Regions from separate parts of the Homo sapiens genome. Here all the other regions are linked to region 1. Evidence: promoter capture Hi-C in human tissues and cell types (Jung and others, 2019). All regions are on one chromosome and are shown on one strand. The core of a region is centred on a gene start or on the middle of the fragment in contact, and the rest is flanking DNA. Distances in the headings are between cores, read along the strand shown.

Evidence for each region. Contacts are between HindIII fragments. The study calls those that stand out against the background at their distance.
Region 2: a contact is called between a fragment that was not itself captured here and the fragment with the promoter of AMN in region 1, in 5 of the 25 tissues and cell types used here (H1 embryonic stem cells, IMR-90 fibroblasts, dorsolateral prefrontal cortex and 2 more).
Region 3: a contact is called between a fragment that was not itself captured here and the fragment with the promoter of AMN in region 1, in 3 of the 25 tissues and cell types used here (lymphoblastoid cells, mesendoderm cells and spleen).
Region 4: a fragment that was not itself captured here is called in contact with the fragment with the promoter of AMN in region 1 in 1 of the 25 tissues and cell types used here (IMR-90 fibroblasts).
Region 5: the fragment with the promoter of CDC42BPB here is called in contact with the fragment with the promoter of AMN in region 1 in 1 of the 25 tissues and cell types used here (small bowel).

Annotation. Positions count from the first base shown.
Region 1 is chr14:102,920,823-102,924,636 of GRCh38, forward strand. It overlaps AMN (amnion associated transmembrane protein), which reads left to right and starts at 1,841. Exons shown (of 12, transcript NM_030943.4): 1 at 1,841-1,909; 2 at 2,889-3,007; 3 at 3,113-3,157. The coding sequence starts at 1,867. RefSeq lists silencers at 2,065-2,264, 3,428-3,626. The HindIII fragment of the contact is 38,072 bases long and covers 1-3,814 here.
Region 2 is chr14:102,678,463-102,682,276 of GRCh38, forward strand. It overlaps RCOR1 (REST corepressor 1), which reads left to right. Exons shown (of 12, transcript NM_015156.4): 3 at 3,433-3,516. Among named protein-coding and RNA genes, the nearest start is that of RCOR1, 88 kb to the left of the region's middle. The HindIII fragment of the contact is 3,359 bases long and covers 456-3,814 here.
Region 3 is chr14:102,719,992-102,723,805 of GRCh38, forward strand. It overlaps RCOR1 (REST corepressor 1), which reads left to right. Exons shown (of 12, transcript NM_015156.4): 9 at 1,016-1,093; 10 at 1,329-1,386; 11 at 2,196-2,425. Among named protein-coding and RNA genes, the nearest start is that of TRAF3, 56 kb to the right of the region's middle. RefSeq lists an enhancer at 2,083-3,282. The HindIII fragment of the contact is 7,835 bases long and covers 1-3,814 here.
Region 4 is chr14:102,759,935-102,763,748 of GRCh38, forward strand. LOC124903390 (a long non-coding RNA gene) reads left to right here. Exons shown (of 2, transcript XR_007064356.1): 2 at 1-1,728. Among named protein-coding and RNA genes, the nearest start is that of TRAF3, 16 kb to the right of the region's middle. The HindIII fragment of the contact is 3,713 bases long and covers 151-3,814 here.
Region 5 is chr14:103,055,661-103,059,474 of GRCh38, forward strand. It overlaps CDC42BPB (CDC42 binding protein kinase beta), which reads right to left and starts at 1,889. Exons shown (of 37, transcript NM_006035.4): 1 at 1,339-1,889. The coding sequence starts at 1,513. RefSeq lists silencers at 1,561-1,640, 1,731-2,230, 2,271-2,380 and an enhancer at 2,376-3,026. The HindIII fragment of the contact is 24,533 bases long and covers 1-3,814 here.

The sequences.
Region 1 (3,814 bases), core at 591-3,090:
ATCCACCATCCACCATCCACCTATTCACCATCCACCATTCACTCATTCACCACCCATCCTTCCATCCACCCACCATCCACCACCCACCATCCACCAACCACTATTCATCTTACCATCCACCATCCACCATCTATCATCCACTATCTACCATCTGCCGCCCATCCATCCACTTAATATTCACCATCTACTCATCACCATTCACTTGTCCATTATCCACCACCCACCAACCATCATCCACCTACCATCCATCATCCACCATTTATCCATTATCTACTTATCTACCATCCATTACCCATCCATTTATCATCCTATCCACCATCTACTATCCACCCATTATCCACTATCCACTGTCTATTCACTATCCACCATCTATTCACTATCCACCGTCCATCTCCATCCACAATTCACCATTTATGCAACCATCATCCACCATCTATCCATTTACCATCTATCTATTCACCATCCACCATCCATCCATTCAGCATTCATCACTCACCAAACATCCACCATTTAACACCCACTTTTTTTTTTTTGAGATGGGGTTTCACTCTTGTTGCCCAGGCTGGAGCACAGTGGCGTGATCTCCGATCACCACAACCTCCGCCTTCCAGGTTCAAACGATTCTCCTGCCTTAGCCTCCCAAGTAGCTGGGATTACAGGCATGTGCCACCATGCCTATCTAATTTTGTATTTTTAGTAGAGATGGGGTTTCTCCATGTTGGTCAGGCTGGTCTCGAACTCCCGACCTCAGGTGATCTGCCCGCCTTGGCCTCCCAAAGTGCTGCGGTTACAGGCGTGAGCCACCGTGCCCCGCCAACACCCACTCTTTATGATCTACCTGTCGGCCATGTATCCATTTATGCCATTATCCATCCACCACTCCCTGATTACCATCCATTCCTTTTCCTTTTTTTTTTTTTTTTTTTGAGACGGAGTCTCGCTCTGTCGCTCAGGCTGGAGTGCAGCGCACGATCGTGGCTCACTGCAAGCTCCACCTCCTGGGTTCACGCCGTTCTGCCTCAGCCCCCCAAGTAGCTGGGACTACAGGCGCCTTCTACCATGCCCGGTTAATTTTTTTGTATATTTTTAGTATAGACGGGGTTTCACCGCGTTAGCCAGGATGGTCTTGATCTCCTGACCTCGCGATCCGCCTGCCTCACCCTCCCAAAGTGCTGGGATTACAGGCATGAGCCACCACGCCCGGCCATTCATTCATTTTTCACTCACCATCCTCATCCATCCATTCATCACCCATCCACCCTCTATCACTCACCATCCACCCCGTCAACCATTTACCATTCATCTGCCATGCGTCCATATGCCGTACACCATGCACCATCAATGTTGCTGTCCATCAGCTGTCCCCTACTCACCATCCACTACTCTCCACCATCATCCACAATCCACCCTCCTATACCATCCACATACCATGTTCCATCCAGGATCTTCCTTCTATCATCCAACCACCACCCACAGCCCATGGGACAGGGGCACTGCGTGGAGAAGTGGACACCCAGTTCCAATGGTGAGCAGACTAGCTCAGCCCTAGCAGCACACAGGACAGAGAAAGGGGTGAATTCAAAGGTCGTTTATTCCCCCTCCCGGCAAGACACCCATTTTACAGGGTAGGTCAGTCTCGCCAAGCCCTTCTTCTTTGCCCTTCTTCCTGAGAACCTAAGGTGTTCAGGCCCTGCAGGGGCGGGTAAGGGGAGGCTGAGAAGGTGCCTCCCAGGGGCCTGAAGAGTCGGCCCTGGGCGGGTCTGGAGGTAAATGTGTAACCGACCCTGGTGCCCCCACCCGACCTGCCTGGTCACGTGGGTCCAGTGGGGCAAAGTCTCCTGGTGGGGTGCAAGGAGCCGAGGCGAGATGGGCGTCCTGGGCCGGGTCCTGCTGTGGCTGCAGCTCTGCGGTGAGCCGGGACCACACCGGTGCGGGCCCGGACGGTAGCGGTCTGTCAGGACCCAGGGCCGAGGTCGCTCTAGGCCTGGAGGGTGAAGATCTTCCGAGGAGTGGGCAGGGAGGGCTTTGGAGGGTTGGGGGCGTGAAACTCGGCCCTGCCTCCCTCGTCTGGCGAGTGCGCAGCCCGGAAGTGCGCGGCCAGTGCATCGGGCGGTGCGGGAGAGGAGAGGAGGGGCTCCGGGAACCTCGGCCAGCCCCGGCCTCCGGCGGCTCCTGCCCTCGCGGTTTTTCCGTCTGCGAAATGGGCGCGGTCCCCAGAACCTGCCGAGAGCAGCGAGTGTGCGCCTGCGGGGCTCGGCAGACCGCCTCAGCTTCCCGGTCCCCAAGGGAGCACTGAGCCCTCCTCCGCCTTCACACCAGGCCGGCGCGTGTCCCTGGCGCCCCCTTCCCTAAACCCCTCGCGGCTCCCTCAGGACAACCCCACCCACCACATTCAGGGCCGGCCTGACCTGGTCCTGCCGCCCCCAGCCCCTTCTTACTTCTCATACCGGGTTGCGCTCTGTCGCAGCTCTTCCCGGCCCAGGTAGGACTCCTCCGGGAAGCCTTCCTGATTCCAAGGCCGAGAAGAGGTCTGTGCTGCCCCATCCTCCTCCATGCCCCAGTTGTCACTGTCCTTAACAACGCTGTCCTCTGCTCCAGCGCCAGGCAAACTGGGGGCAGTGCCGGGAGGCTATCTAGGCAGGCGTCCTGCAGGGCGCGTTTGAGCGGGCTCTGCAGGTATCAGTAGAAGTCCGTTGGAGAGCGCCCGGGCAGGGCGCCCACAGTCTGGCCGGGAGGGACCAGGGTCTGGGTCCGGGCCCCCGGGGATGGGGTTCCTATGCGTCCCGGGTGATCCGCGCGGACCTTCCGCACTTCTCTGGGTGGGTGGCCTTCCCTGAGAAGGGAGCATCCCGGAGAGCATCCCGGGCACTCAGTCGCCTCCTCCCCAGCACTGACCCAGGCGGTCTCCAAACTCTGGGTCCCCAACACGGACTTCGACGTCGCAGCCAACTGGAGCCAGAACCGGACCCCGTGCGCCGGCGGCGCCGTTGAGTTCCCGGCGGACAAGGTGCCTGGGAGCGCCGGCGGGGTCGGTGATGGGCCTGGACCCCTGAGACCGTGTGGCCCCGGTGGGGGTTGCTCCCGGCTCGGCTGAGGCAGCTTCTTCCTGCAGATGGTGTCAGTCCTGGTGCAAGAAGGTCACGCCGTCTCAGACATGGTAAGGCCGGGCTGCTACTGCCACTGGGCTGGGGGTTCACAGAGTCTCTGAAGCGCCTTCAGGGACTGCTGTGCCTTGAGGGCGGACCCCACCGGCATGGAGGCACTGCAGGACTGGGACTTTGGCCTCTGGAGAATATTCTAGGAGGCAGGGAGTGGGGGGGAACCTAGGGGAGCTTGGTCCCATGGTCCCAGCCAGGCTGTGTCCTGGGAGGGATGGGAGGCACCCCTGTCCCCACAGCCCTTGTGATGCCCAGCAGTGGGTGGTCTTCCCAGGAAGCGCCTGCTCCATGCCCTTCCCCCAAAGCCTTGCCTTGTCCTGGTGCCTAAAGCTCCATCTTTAGAACACTAGGGAAAGTGTCCCCAACACCCCCCCCTCTACCCACCATCCGGGTCCCTGGCCTGTTAGGAAGTGGCCGCCCAGGAAGAGGCGAGCCCACTCCTGCCTGGCTCTGCCTCCCTTCAGATCAGATCAGATTCTCCTAGGGACCCCTATTGTCACTGCGCCAGCGAGGGGCCTGGGTGGGTGTGCACTCCTTAAGTGGCTGACATCTGAGATGGGACAGCTTAATCCTGAAACCTTCCCCACTCCCATCAGTCCATGGAAGAACTGTCTTCCACAAAACTGGTCCCTGGTGCCAAAAAGGTTGGGGACTGC
Region 2 (3,814 bases), core at 885-3,384, 240 kb before region 1:
CTAATTTTTGTATTTTTGTGGAGATGGGGTTTCACAGTATTGGTCAGGCTGGTCTCGAACCCCTGACCTCAGGTGATCCTGAGCCTCCCAAAGTGCTGGGATTACAGGCGTGAGTCACTGCTCCCAGCCTGTGTGCAGGTTTTATTGTGAACATATGCTAATTCTGTAGGGTATATGGCTGAACAGTGGGGTTGCTAGATCAGTCATTTGGTAAATATAATTATGTCTTTGTAAAAAACTGCAAAACTTTCCCAGAATGGCTTTATAATTTTGCATTTACACCAGCAGTGTATGAGAATTTCAGTTGTTCCCATTCTTGTCAGCACTTTGTAGTGTTGATGCCTTTTATTTTAGACAGCCTAACAGGTAAATAATGGTTTCTCATCATGGCTTTAATTTACATTTTCCTAATGGCTAATGATGTAGAGCATCTTTTCATCTAATATACCCCCTTTATATCTACTTTGGCGAAGTGACTGTTCAAATCTTTTGGCCATTTTAAAAAAATTGTGTTATTTTCCTTATTGTTGACTTTGAAAGTTCTTTATGTATTCTGGATAGAAGTCCTTTGTTGCATATGCGATATGCAAATATTTTCTTACAGTCCGTAGTGTATCTCAACAGTGCCTTTTGCAGAGCAAAAGTTTTTAAATTTTATTTTTAGTATACCATTAAAAAATGTTTGGTGGATTGTGATTTTGGTACTGTATCTAAGATCTCCTTTCCCAATCCAAGGTCAAAAAGATTTCCATGTGTTTTTCTTTAGAAATTCTATAATTTTTCAGTTTTACACTTAGTTCTGTCATCTGTTTTGAGATAATTTTGAGGTATGGATCCAAATTTTTTTAAAAAAATGTTTGTTTTGTTTTTGCATGTGAATATTCATTTGTTCCTGCATCATTTGTTGAAAAGATTATTATTTTTGGCTTGATTTTGCCTTCGTGCCTTTATGGAAAATCATTTGATCCTGTATGTGTGGTTCTGTTTTTGGACTCTATTCCATTTATTTCCCTTTTTTTTTCTTTTTTTTTTTTGAGACAGAATCTCGCTCTGTCACCCAGGCTGGAGTGCAGTGGTGCAATCTTGGCTCACTGCAAGCTCCGCCTCTCGCGTTCACGCCATTCTCCTGCCTCAGTCTCCCGAGTAGCTGGGACTACAGGCGCCCGCCACCACGCCCGGCTAATTTTTTGTATTTTTAGTATAGACGGGGTTTCATCATGTTAGCCAGGATGGTCTTGATCCCCTGACTTCATGATCCTCCTGCCTCGGCCTCCCAAAGTGCTGGGATTACAGGCGTGAGCCACTGCACCTGGCCTTTTCTCTGTCTTTATGCCAATACCATACATTCTTGATTACTGATTTTTTGTAATTAGTCTTGATTTAGATAGTGTAAGTCTTCCAACTTTGCTCTTTTTCAAAATTGCATTGGCTGTCTCATTTACTTTGCCTTTCTTTATGAATTGTAGAATATTTATCAATTACGGCAAAAGAAGGTGCTACAATTTTGATTGGAGTTGCATTGAATCTTTAGAGCAGTTTGGGAAGAATGCCTTCTTAATAATAAGTCTATATCTATGATCTATTTCTTCATCTTCTTAGATCATCTTTAGTTTCTCTCAGCAGTGTTTTGTAGTTTTCAGTGTACACATCTTACTTTATCCCTAAGTTATTTCATATTTGATGCTAATGATCTTTAATTTTGATTTTTGATTTTTTTTTTATTGCTGGTATATAGAAATAGAATTGACTATTTACTATTAATATTATTTCCTACAACCTTACTAAACTTGTTTATTCTGGTACCATTTTGTAGATTCTACAAAATGTAGATTTTCTACACAGATAATCGTGCAGTTTTGATTGTACCTTTCCACTGTGGATGCCTTTATTTTTGTTTTACTTTAGACTTTTATTGGAAATACAGCAGGACTTATTTGTCTTTGTATTCCCTTTGGGGTCCCTCCCCACACATACCTTTGATGACTTTTGTTTTAGATTCTTTGTAGCGTTAGCATTGTTCTGAAGTCAGAACTATGTATATATCTATAAAAAAGGTATACTTGGGCTGGGCGTGGTGGCTCACACCTGTAATCCCAGCACTTTGGGAGGCCAAGGCAGGCAGATCATGAGGTCAGGAGTTCGAGACCAGCCTGGCCAATATGATGAAACCCCGTCTCTACTAAAAATAAAAAATTAGCTGGGTGTGGTGGTGCACACCTGTAGTCCCAGCTACTCAAGAGGCTGAGGCAGGAGAATTGCTTGAGCCTGGGAGGCAGAGGTTGCAGGGAGCCAAGATCACACCACTGCACTCCAGCCTGCGTGACTGAGTGAGACTGTCTCAAAAAAGAAGGTAAACTCAAAGGCGGTCACTCCATCTTTTTTGTCATATTTCTTTCTCATCTACATCCTCTTCCCATCTGCAACAGAAATTCAACTTTTAATTTTACCTAATTCATACTTTTCACACTTTGGGTCCTTTTCACTATTCTGTTACGGTTCTTTAAAGTAACTGCCTCTCAGATTTTACTAAAAATGTAAAATTTCCTCTTTATGAAACCTAGAACACATTGGTAGACAAAATTAAAGATGGGAGATCTGGTGGTATCATAAAAGAAGAAATTCGTCAACCAGACTGTGGGTTTCCTAGATTTTTGTTTATAGTAGGTTGTATGTTATATTTAGTTGCATTTTTCCCCCTAGAGTTTAGGTTCCATAACTTTCATCATATTTTCAGAGTAATTTATTTAAAGGAAAAAAAGTGGCCAAAATTAACCTTTAGAATGAATAAGTCTGGGCCTAACCAGTGTGAAGGTATGGTCACTGAACCTCCTGTTTCTCGAGTCTTTGCCTTCTGAAGATATGTGTATTGTAATAGATGACAGCCGCTTGCGGTTAATTCAGTAATACATGTCAGCTCCACCCCTGGCACTTTTAAACCTTTTGGCCTACTATTTTGCAAAACAGATTTTTAAGAATTAGTATGCATTTTAGAAGTTTCCTTTCAGGTTAAACTTTTTAAATAGTTATTCTTTAATAATGCTGTTAAAAGAATTTTGGGATTTCTATTGCCAAGTCACTAAAAAGTAACTCAGGCAGAGAAGGGTAAGGGTGCTGCAAGCACACATGAAGAATTAACATTTTAAAAGAACCTTTGAGCACCTTGGCACCTGTGGATTTCTTCTTGGATGTCTCATGCCTAAAAGCAGAGCAGCATACTGTAAAATCAGTAAAAGTAGGAAAGGACTTGCAAGTAGAAATGTTTCAGCAGACTCTCGCCTCCCCCATCTCCATCCTCACTCTGATGTTAAGTGTGGGGCCCATTGGGCCAGATACAGGTAAAAAGGTGGGTGATGTCATTAAAAGGTATTGTTACTTATAGCTTATTATATGTGTTAAATTTTAATAAGAATTTTCTTTTTTCTTTCTCCCAAGCCAAACTGGCAAGACGCAGTCAAGAACGGGACAATCTTGGCATGTTGGTCTGGTCACCCAATCAAAATCTGTCAGAAGCAAAGTGTAAGTCTTGGAGCACTTTATTTTCCACCTTTCTTGTTTAATGTAAGGTTTTAAAGGTACCTTTGAAGGTAAAAGCTTCTATATGTATTAAATTTCTTTTCTATTTTAAGATAAATAATTTAAAGAGTTTTAAAGTGTATATTTCTTTTTTTAAAATTTTTTATTTTTTGAGATGGATTCTGGCTCTGTTGCCCAGGCTGGAGTGCAGCAGCACGATCTGGGCTCACTGCAATCTCTGCTTCCTGGGTTCATGTGATTCTCCAGCCCCAGCCTCCTGAATAGCTGGGATTACAGGCAC
Region 3 (3,814 bases), core at 971-3,470, 200 kb before region 1:
TAAGAGATTGTAATGTCTAGCATGGCAGCCAGCAGCCCCATGTGTGGTTGTTTAAATTTAGATTAATTACAAGTGAAAAAAATTTAAAAATTTTCGGGTAGCATCTTCTACTCATGAATGTCTTTTACATTTTACTTGAGAAAATCAAGCTCCTCTTCCGTTGGCTTTCTTAGTTGCTTGTGTGATTATTCAAAGATGAAAAATGCTGGAGTTCAGAGTTCCCTGGTGCTTGACACGGATATGCCCTCTACTTGGAGTAGAGAGAAAATAGCATACTTCCGTGACCTGTCTCATTCAAGGGTCCATGGGAAAATTAAGGAGCAGCCATAGCCTGGGAGGTTGGTATTGTTTGTGGTCTTTCTTTCGACTGGGTAAGGACAGTGAAAGATTACCTTGAGCCAAGGCAGTAATGTGGAAAAAGATAATTTGTAGGAAAGTGAAGACGTGACAGTTAATCAAAGTTAGACTTCTGGAAATCTCACTGACATTGTGTTTTCCTCGCCCCCCCATCATTAAAGAAATCTATGCTTGTGCACTTCTGCCCTGTGTAGAAGCGGTGGACAGCACAGTGATCTTGGGGCGCTGTGAGGCTGCACCCGCAGTTCTGTTGTAAAGACTGGGCCTTTTTGGTCCTTACTGTGGCTGCTCTGTTACTTCAGTTCAATCCTATGTGGTAGTAAGCCCAGGGATTTCTTCTGTCTTTTATGTAAGACTCCAGGTAGGTGTTTTGCTGCTCAGGTATCACCTGTTAGGAAGCTGTGGATCCAGGACTGTGTACGTGAGAGCCCTCCGTCCCCTCCTCCTTGGGTTGTACCTTATCTGTTGCTCTGAACAAGCAAATAATAAACCTAGTTAGATGCTTCAAAGGATACCATAGGGATCTCAGAATTCAGCTACAACAGATGTTAGTAACGTCTTTACTCTTGGGTTTTTGTTTCTTTAGGTTTTTAAGTTCTGTTTTCATACCTTTATATAGTTTTTATTTTTAAAATGAAAATTATTTTTTCCTTCCTAGATCCAGAATATTAAACAGACAAACAGTGCTCTCAAAGAAAAACTTGATGGTGGAATAGAACCATATCGACTTCCAGAGGTAGGATTATGTTAACATCATCTTAGAAGTCATATTCAAGTTTTACATGTTTAAGAATTTAATATCGGTGTGATACATCCCCAGTATACATCTCTTGGAAGAGTATATGGACATAATTTTATGAACCCAGTTGATGTTAAAATTCCGATAAGAGAAAATGAAAGGTTCGTTAAGCTCATAAGGACATACTCATCTCTAAATGTAATGTGCTAAAATGACTCATTTGGATATCCAGGTCATTCAGAAATGTAATGCACGTTGGACTACAGAAGAGCAGCTTCTCGCCGTACAAGGTAGGGGGAAGTTCTTCTAAAGAGTTTAGGAGGCCGGCTGTGGTGGCTCACACCTGTAATCCCAACATTTTGGAAGGTTGACGCATTTGCTTGAGCCCAGGAGCTCAAGGCTGCATTGATCCATGATCACACCACTGCATTCCAGCCTGGACAACAGAGGGAGACCCTGACTTTAAAAAAAAAAAATTTTTTTTTTAATGGAAAAAAAAGAGCTTAGGAGCATTGGTAGATTTTAGGGAAAAGTTACGTCCTGCCCTACTCCCAGCACCTAGATTCTTGGACAATTATGTCCTAGTGGATATCATTTTAGCCAAATTACTGTATTCCTTTGGGCTTTTTTCTTTTCCTTTCCCACTTCTCACAAGTTGTAAAAACTTAACCGGGAACCCTGAGTCTTCTAAAGGTGTATTTCATTTTACTAGTTACTCATCGAGCTCTGACTAGCCAGGAAGTACAAAACCCCAAAAGAAGCAGACAGAGTGTTCAGCTTTAAAGGTTGGGGGTGCTCTGGACCTGCGATACCAAAAGATGAATGCAGAATGTCCCCAACCCTAGGGCAATTGCTGGGTGACTTCAGCTGTTATGTGACATGTAATGGGAAGACAGATATCAAAATGACAGGGTCGGTCATCTCCAGAATGTGTCTAGAATTGGCTGGTACTTTTTCCTACTCTAATAATACACGAAATTATTGCCTGCTGTTAAAAGCCTGTATGTTTTCTTATCTGGATAAAGAGGTAAGTGTCACTTGTGGTTTTAAAAAAATGTTTTTCTCTTGTATTTTAAAAAATGCTTTCTTACATCCTTAGCCATCAGGAAATATGGCCGAGATTTTCAGGCAATCTCAGACGTGATTGGGAACAAATCAGTGGTACAAGTGAAAAACTTTTTTGTAAATTATCGACGCCGCTTCAACATAGATGAAGTTTTACAAGAATGGGAGGCAGAACATGGTAAAGAAGAGACCAATGGGCCCAGTAACCAGAAGCCTGTGAAGTCCCCAGATAATTCCATTAAGATGCCCGAAGAGGAAGACGAGGTAAATCTGAAACAAAACAGTCACTTCTCTTGTCAGGTTCACGCTTGATACTCCAGTTTCTAAAGTGATGAATTTTTTCAGCTATAGAGATTTTTAGGTATCAGCTGTATTAGTAACTTCACTCTTACCTGTAAATAGCCGGAATGTGTATGCATTGACTCCAGTTCTTGGTGCCTGTATATTATTCACATGTTAATTTCTGGGCAAATCCTGAATTACATCCTGATTTCCTCCAGCTACAAAATACTCTGCATTATCAGTTTTTCCTTAAATACAGTAAAATCTTGAGTGACAAAGACAGGGGAGTGGGGGCATAAACAAAAAGTAAAAATGCAGTGAAAGCTGTCCTGTCTGTGAGGGATGTCGATGAAGCTCCGTCATCTGCAATGTGCAGTCACATCATCATGACGCAGCACAGCGAGCCAGCCAGGAGCTCCTGAGGCCTCTCCCTGCTGTCCAGATCTTTCAGCCTTTGATGCTCTTTGGGGCTGATTGGCTTAAGTATTGATGGGGACAGTTCTGTGGCTGGCTGGAACTTCTGTGATGGTGGCTAATTTCTGGAATGATAACCCTGGTCTCATCTGTCACCTCCCTGCTTCCTGTGTCAGGGGCACCTGCCATTTCCCCATCTAGCCTGGCCTGCCTTGCTGTTACATTTGTCCCTCTATTCCCAGAGCAGATGAGCCTGGGGCTGGGCATAAGAAAGAGTTACTTGCCAATCACTTTGCATCTGAATTTGTTCACAGGCATGGTAATTTAAGAATTAATTTAGCTTTGTAAGGAAAGTCACTTTCACATCAAAGCCTTTTCAAACCATACTGGAATGTTTTGAGATTACCTATTTTGTATTGCGTGTGCTACCATTTTGCTCCAAGGGCCTGGCTCTGGAAACAGCCCAGAAGGCCCCTCCTGACCTGAGCATGGAAGTACCTCGTGAGGTATTGGCATCCCCTGGGAGCGTGGTGCCGCCACTCCATGCAGGGCCTCTTTGCTGACTGGAGAAAGGACCTCAAGGCACAGCCATCTGTAAGAACACCATTGAAACATATTAAATTTGTTAGAATTAGATTCTTTAGAGCCTTTTGCCAGAAAATCTTTATAATAAGTGTACCACGTCTATAATATTGCCAAGGTCAGTACCCCTGAATCACCCCCATGCATAGCTCTGCCTGAAAAGAGCATGTGAATTAAATGATGGTGTTTTTATCTTTCAGCAGTGATTTTTTTCTTTATTATTATTTCTTTTTATTTTCAGTGATTTTTGTACCAGCACTAATTGCCCCTGTTAGCACTCAGTTTCGGAAGCATTGAAAAGCTGGAGACTGCTGGGGAAGAACCATTAGAATTTGCAGGAATGAAAGCTTGCTTCTTGTGTGTGTGTTTTCCGGC
Region 4 (3,814 bases), core at 757-3,256, 160 kb before region 1:
CGACTTGTTTCCTTGTTAGAGCTAAACTGTGGTCTTCCCTCCAATGTTTTCTGCAATGGGAACCCATCACTTGCCATGACTTTGATCTGAGCTTGATCGTTTTATTCAGAAGGAAAGCTTTCCTACAAGCAATTCATTTCCGTTGCATTTCCAAACCAGATCTATTTGATTATGCATGGGAAGCTTACAACATTTTCCACTGAGACGGTTTTTGAATTAACTGAAAACTTAGCTGTTTCATAATTTCTGAATTGTAGATTTTTGGCTCCCCTTCTTGGTCTCATAACTCCATCGATGGGTCTTTTTAAATCTGAAATTTGCCATAGGCTGAGTCCTCAAAGAAAGATATATACCCTTGACATTTGAAAGAAATTAATGGAAAATCACTAAATCCCTTCAAATGCTACATCGAAATGTAGTTACAACTCTTTCCTCAGGCCCAGTGAGGATTGAATCATAGCAAAATCTTCATGTTTAATATTGAAATTTTATCCAGGAGACCCCCCCCAAAAAAATGCCTTGCAACGGGCAGCTCAGCATTTCCCAGACCTGCTGGGAGCGCTCTCTGGCTCTAACTTGGAGCTGTGGCAACTGGAAGATGAACCCGTGAACCTGGCTTTTCCCAAACTGCAAGTCTAAGGCTCCAGAGAAGTCAGAGCCCCAAGGGCTAAAGCATGAGCCATGGTTGGGGGTTCTCTGGAAACACACCAACAGCTGCTTCCCATTTGCCTCCAGAATCTTCAGGAGCTCAGAGCCTCTCAGTGTGTGTGTCACACCTGCTCACGTGCCGTTGGCTGAAGCAAGTGACATGGCTGGGCCCAAACGGAAGGAGTGGGGAGCAGATCCTCTCCGTAGAAGGAACAAAGTCAGATGCCAAGGGGCACGGGCGCAGAGATAGGAGGACGGTGCACCACCCTGCAGTCCGCACTGAGCCCTGCCAGCACCACATTCATGGGCTGCTGCACCCATTCCCTAACCGTGGTGAGTGCGGGCTGTTGACAGCACGCCCGCCTCCTTTTCAGAGCACGGCCTTGGCTGACAGGAGCCACACATCCTGGCTGTGCTCTTCCTCACTGCCTGGGAGTCACAGCCGATGGCTGGCCGGGCCCCCTTTCTTCAAGGCGGGGCAAAGCAGTGGTGTGGGCTGTGGTCCAGAGAGCACCTGACTTGAGCCTACACCCTTGCTCGGCTCTTTCCCCTTCCCCGTGCCGCTGTCTTCCCTCCCTCCCAGGCGTTTATTGAAGAGCCTTCCCTCAATAAGCCACGCGCCCTGAATCCCTGCTCCAGCTCCACTTCCCGGGACCTCCAGGGCCAAGGCGGTGCTTTCCAAGGGTGGTCCATGGTGTTTCCTGCCCAGCACGCTTTTCGACACTGCGGTCTGACGCTCCTTCTGAGATAGGGGAGGTCTGTGTCCCCTCCCCTTGAGTCTGGGCAGGCAGGTGACTTGCTTGTAGCCAGTGGGGTATGGCAGAAGTGACACTATGTGACGTCCGATGGTGGTCGTCAGTGTGGCACAGGAACACCTGCTCTCAAAGCTGCCAGACTGCCTGCCTGCTGCGAGGAGGCCGGGGGCACCCCTGTGGGCACACGCCTGGCCAGCCCCACACTAGTCAACTCCAGCCGTTGTCCGAAGGCAACTGCAGGACAGACTCCAGCTAAACCTTGCCCGAGTTCCTGACCCCCAGAAATCTGGAGAAAATAAAAAAAAGATCGTTGTTATTTAAGCCACTAGGTTTTGTTTGTTTGTTTTGTGTTTGTTTTTTTTTTTTTTTGAGACGGGGTTTCGCTCTTGTTGCCCAGGCTGGAGTGCAATGGCACGATCTTGGCTCACTGCAACCGCCACCTCCCCGGTTCAAGTGATTCTCCTGCCTCAGCCTCCCGAGTAGCTGGGATTACAGGCATGTGCCACCATGCCCGGCTAATTTTGTATTTTTAGTAGAGATGGGGTTTCTCCATGTTGGTCAGGCTGGTTTCAAACTCCCGACCTCAGGTGATCCACCCGCCTCGGCCTCCCAAAGTGCTGGGATTACAGGCGTGAGCCACCGCTCCTGGCTGAATGGTCTTTTTTCTCTGTTGGAAACCCTGGAAGCCTGCCCATTTCCAGAGGGCCTGAGGTGTCTCTGGGTCTCCTCTCAGACTTCTGCATCTCCAACCTGCTGGAGCAGGCCCACACCCTGGGCTGTGTGTCTCTGAAAGAGGAGCTGGAGTTTCAAGGACTAGGAGAGTGGGGAGGGGCCAGGAAACACGTGGCCCTGCAGTCAGAGCTCTCAGGAGTTGGGATTCTGTGTAGAGATGTTGGTGTTTATTCCCAGCCCTCAGGGGCTGCCCACTCTTCAGTCTTTGGGGGGAGGCTGAGGATGGTGAGCAGGTTGGGGGAGGAAGGGGGAAGCATGAGCAGGGTCGGGGACTGGTGGGGAAGGAATAGAGTGGTAGGGAATGGCAGGCATGGGGGGAATTGCAAGGGGGTTGTAGGGAGAATAAGGGAGGATGGTGGGGGAACTGGTTGGGGGAATGGGGGTAGAATAGGAGGATGGGGAGGGATGGGGGAAATGCTGGGGGGGAATGGTGGCAGGTATAAGGGGATGGGAGGGGTGGGTAGAGTCAGGGAATGGCTTGGAGGAAATTCCAGCACTTTTGAAATTTTCCCAACTTCAATGCATCTAAATGATGCTACTGGATTTTGCCTCGTTATGAAAAGCATTAGAAGTTGTATGTTTAGGGCCAGGCGCGGTGGCTCATGCCTGTAATCCCAGCACTTTGGGAGGCCGAGGTGGGCGTATTACAATGTCAGGAGATCAAGACCATCCTGGCTAACACAGTGAAACCCCGTCTCTACTAAAAATAAAAAAATTAGCCGGGTGTGGTGGCGGGCGCCTGTAGTCCCAGCTACTCGGGAGGCTGAGGCAGGAGAATGGTGTGAACCCGGGAGGCAGAGCTTGCAGTGAGCCGAGATTGTGCCACGGCACTCCAGCCTGGGCGACAGAGCGAGACTCTGTCTCAAAAAAAAAAAAAAAAAAAAAAAAAAAAAAGTTGTATGTTTAGGCTGATTTTTTATTATTATTATTATTCCTGACCAAATGTCAGAAATTCTATTGCATTTTTAGGGTTTCAGGTCCTTTGACTACCCACTGGCAGCTGGACACCCATTCAAGGGCAAAAAACCCCACAACCCACAGTTCTGAAAACAACGTCAGCGAATTCATGGCTGCCCCTCTTCAGAGTCCACGCAGAGGGTTATGAAGCCTGGGTGCAGTGAAGTTAAAGAGGTGGGGAGGAAAGGGGGCCACCGGCTCACATGTGTGGGGTTCACAGGAGGGCAGTGGCAATGACAGACCCCCAGCCCGGCTGGGCAACTTTGCAGGGTTTACAGTTTAACAGGCTCAGAAAAGACCCCGTTCTTCAACTGTACAGTGGACGGAGTGAACGAACGAATTTTTTTTTTTTTTGAGACGGAGTCTCGCTCTGTCGCCCAGGCTGGAGTGCGGTGGCGCCATCTCGGCTCACTGCAAGCTCCGCCTCCCGGGTTCACGCCATTCTCCTGCCTCAGCCTCCCGAGTAGCTGGGACTACAGGCGCCCGCCACCATGCCCGGCTAATTTTTTGTATTTTTAGTGGAGATGGGGTTTCGCCGTGTTAGCCAGGATGGTCTCAATCTCCTGCCCTCGTGATCCGCCGGCCGTGGCCTCCCAAAGTGCTGGGATTACAGGCGTGAGCCACTGCGCCCGCCCACGAACGAATATTTCAAAGACACACAGCAGACGTTACTCTTGATGGGTCCCAGAGCAAGCTCGATTCTTACTCATCCTTAAGAATGG
Region 5 (3,814 bases), core at 639-3,138, 130 kb after region 1:
CTCTCACAAGATACCGTGTAACATTTCACTACAGAGTAATCCAACAGAAGCCCTCTAAAGAATATTGCAACTTAAGTTTTATTTGTAAACAAAATTCCAAATTCCAGTCACCAATCTGGCAGAGTAGAGTAGGAGGCCTGGAGGCCTCACTGTGGAACACTTTCATTTGTTTCTTCGTATAAATATCAGCTTTATCAGCCCCAAAGATTAGAAATTACTGGTTCGAACTGAACAGTCCTAGCCCAGTGACGCAAATGACCCAAGGATAAGGTTTTCATAGGTTTGGCCTGAACATACGCATTTCCTCCTCCTACTCAGTGGTTTTAGGTGAGACAGTCTGAGGGTCTTGACCGGCACACCCGTTAGGGAGAGATGAAGTAAAAGAGTTTCACGCTGCACTTTTACCTGTCTTTAGGATCCTAATTATCGTTAAATGGTTTAATCAAATTTTTGTCCTAAAAAAGCATAATAGGTTAGCTGACCAATGATTAAAACATTATAGATCCGGAACGAACTAGAGAAGGCATGCAAAATTCAGATGAGAAAGTTTCTAAGTGATAGCTCCAGCTACCCCTCCAAATATCACAAAGGTCTAGCAGAATTGGAATTAAAAAAAAAAAGTCCTCTTGCACGGTTTATTTAAAATAAAGCCTTAACCTTAAAATTCCCTTGAAGGTGTTACAGCAAAGTAGGTATTCAGGCTCTGACCAACAAGGGGATGTAGACAGGCTGTCACCCAGGAGGGGCCGTTAGAGCTGGGCTCCCTGGGGATGCAAGGGGGTCCCACGGGGCAGTGGGCGAGGCAGATGCAGAAAGCACACCCAGCTGCCCCCACAACGCAGAGAAGCGTGGGGTGGGGAAAGGGAACTAATTCCACACTGCCTCCGGACCCCAAAGGCGAGGTGCGGGGGCGGGGGCGGGGGCGGGGGCGGATATCCCAGTGAGTGCTGCAGGAAATGATATCCAGACTCGGAGGGTGGATCTAGGAAGCCGCCAGGGCGAGGGCCCGGCGGGGGGGAGGGGGTGGGAGTGGGAACGTAGGATGTGGCTCCAAGGGGCAGGATGAGGGGGCGGGACGATCGAACGCGGATGTCGAGCCTAGGGAGGGCAAGGAGGGATGAAAAGCTAGCGGAGGGACGAGGGTGCAAGGAGCGGCTGGAGAGAGATGGGCTGCGGGCCTGGGGGCGCTGCCAGAGCGAGAGGAGGCGAAGCCCACGAGCTGGGTGGGCAGGAGGGCGGCAGGGTCTGTCCGGGCGGGGATGGGCGGGCGTGGGGATGCGCGGGCTGGGGCGCGGGGGTCGCAGAGCCGCAGGTCCGGCCCTGCCGGCGCGCACTTACCCCACTCGAGGAACTCGGCCACGTACTTGTCGCGGCGCAGGGCCGAGTGGCTGCACTCGGTGTACAGGCAGACGAGCACGTCGAGCAGCGTTTCCACGCTCAGGGCGCTCTCGTTGCGCCAGGGCCCGTCCAGGAGCAGCTGCTCCAGCTTCTTGAGCCGCACCTTGGCCGACATGGTGCCGCGCGGCCCGCTCCCGACGCGCCGGCCTCTCACCGCCGGCTCGGCCAGTCCGTCAGGGCGCGCCCTCGGGGGCTCGGCGGCTGCGAGCCCCGGCAGCAGCGGCGCCTCCTCGCCGCCCCGTCCGCGTCGTCGCGCCCCGGCCTAGGCCGACATCTTGGGCTCCGTCCCGACGGCGCAGAGTCTGGGGCGCCGGGCCCCGCGGGTCCATGGGCCGCTCTCCTCCCCTCGGCGCCGCCGCCCTCCCAGCTCGGGCGGCCCGCCCCCGCCGCCCTCAGCCCCGCCCGCGGCCGCGCCCTCCCCGCCGCCGCCGCCGCAGACTAGGAGCGGCGAGGAGCCTAGCGCTGCGCAAGCCCGGCCGGCGCCCGAGCCCGACCCCAGCCCCGACCCGGCGGCCCAGCCCCGCGGCCCGCAGCCAACCAGGGCGCGGCCAGCACCAGCGCAGCCAACCACTACGGGGCCGGCCGCCGCCGCGCTGACCTCAGCGCGCCGCCCCGCCCCGCGCCCGGCTCCCTGCTCCCGGCGGGCTCGGGCCTCGCCGCTTGCCGTAGGGAGCCGGGATGCTGGGAAGGCAGGGCCGGGCCTGGGGAGCGGCGCGGGGTGGGGGTGGGGGGGGCGGGGCGGGGCGAGTGGGCCGCTGAGATTGCGGAGCCCGCGCATGCGCAGAGCGCGCCTGGTGGGCGTGTGCGCCTTCGCCCTGCGGACCCGGTGCCTTCAGTATTCGGGGTCCGACCGCGCGCGTCGCGGATCCCGGGGCCGAAGACGACCCCAAGTATCGGAGAGGCAGAGTCGCGATCTCAGGCCGTCGAGCCCCGTCCCGCAGTCCGCGGGCCCATGTTGCCTGCGGGGCCTCGGACCTGCCCGGCCGAGGTGGGGGTCGAGGGCGGCCCGGCAGGCGCAGCTCTGATGGCCTCGGCGGGTTGTGGGCTATTTAAAACGGCTTGTCCCAGCTCGAAGCGGTCCTGGAAGACTCGGGCCCTACCCCTGACTTTACCGATGAGAGACTGAGGCCCAGACGGTGTGGGGTCAGGGCCCAGGCTTCTGGGGGATGCTGCCAAGGCGGGAGCCAGCGTCCCCAGTGCCCGGTGGATTCGTGATGGCTTGCAGAGGGTTTCAGTTTCCACTGTCCAGCCCTCCCTGCAGACCAATGCCTAGGTGTGACAGTTTGGTAGGAAAGGGGCCGGATATTTGTCTCCAGGCTGGGTTTGCCTAGCGAGTCGCTGCATTTACTAAGATTGTTGGTTAATTTGGGTGGCTGGGGGAGGGAGGCTGATGGAGATACCCCCCAACCCCAACAAACCCTTGGCGTCAGGAGAGGAGGGGCTTTTCCTGGAGCTTGCGGAAGGTCACCGAAATCGTGGGGGTATCTGAGAGCTTCTGGGGCGCGCGGGTGCAGGGGAAGGGGTCATGCTTCCGTGGAAGCGGTGGCCTCCAGGTGGAGCCGATGAAGGGGCAGATAGGGGTTTGAAGCAGGACGTTAAGGGAGCCTGAAGCAAAACTAATCTCTGGAGCTAAAAATAGGAGTGGGCCTGGCGCGGTGGCTCACACCTGTAATCCCAGCACTTTAGGAGGCCGAGGTGGGCGGATTGCCTGAGCTCAGGACTTCGAGACCAGCCTGGGCAACACGGTGAAACCCCGTCTCTACTAAAATACAAAAAACTAGCCGGGCGTGGTGGCGCGCGCCTGTAGTCCCAGCTACTCGAGAGGCTAAGGCAGGAGAATTACTTGAACCCGGGAGGCGAAAGTGCAGTGAGCCAAGATCGCTCCACTGCACTCCAGCATGGGCAACAGAGCACGACTCCGTCTTAATAATAGTAATAATAATAAGAAGAAGAAGAAGAAGAAGAGGAGTGGCTGCCTATGCCGGAGTTGTTGACTGGAACAAGAGGAGGAACCTTCTGGGCTGCTGGTAATGTTCTATGCCTGGATTTGGGTAGTAGTTACATGGGAGCACGCATAAGTAAACATTCTTCAAACTGTCTTCTTAAGATGAGTGCATGTCACTGTGTGTATGTATATATAATACCTTCATTTCTTAAAGGCAGGTGAGAACAATCTGGCGTTAGAGGTGAGAGTACTGGTTGCCTTTGGGGTATCAACTGGAAGGAGGCACAAGGAGAGGCCTCTAGGGGGCTGGGAACATTCTGTATCTTCAGCACAGCCGTTTTGTAACGTTGGGTCTGTAAATGTGTATAAATTCATCAAACTGTATTCTAAATATTTGCATGTTACTATTTGTGTATGACACCTTAAAAGTTTTTTTTAAAAAGTCTGAGCAGATCACCTGGCTCAAAATCA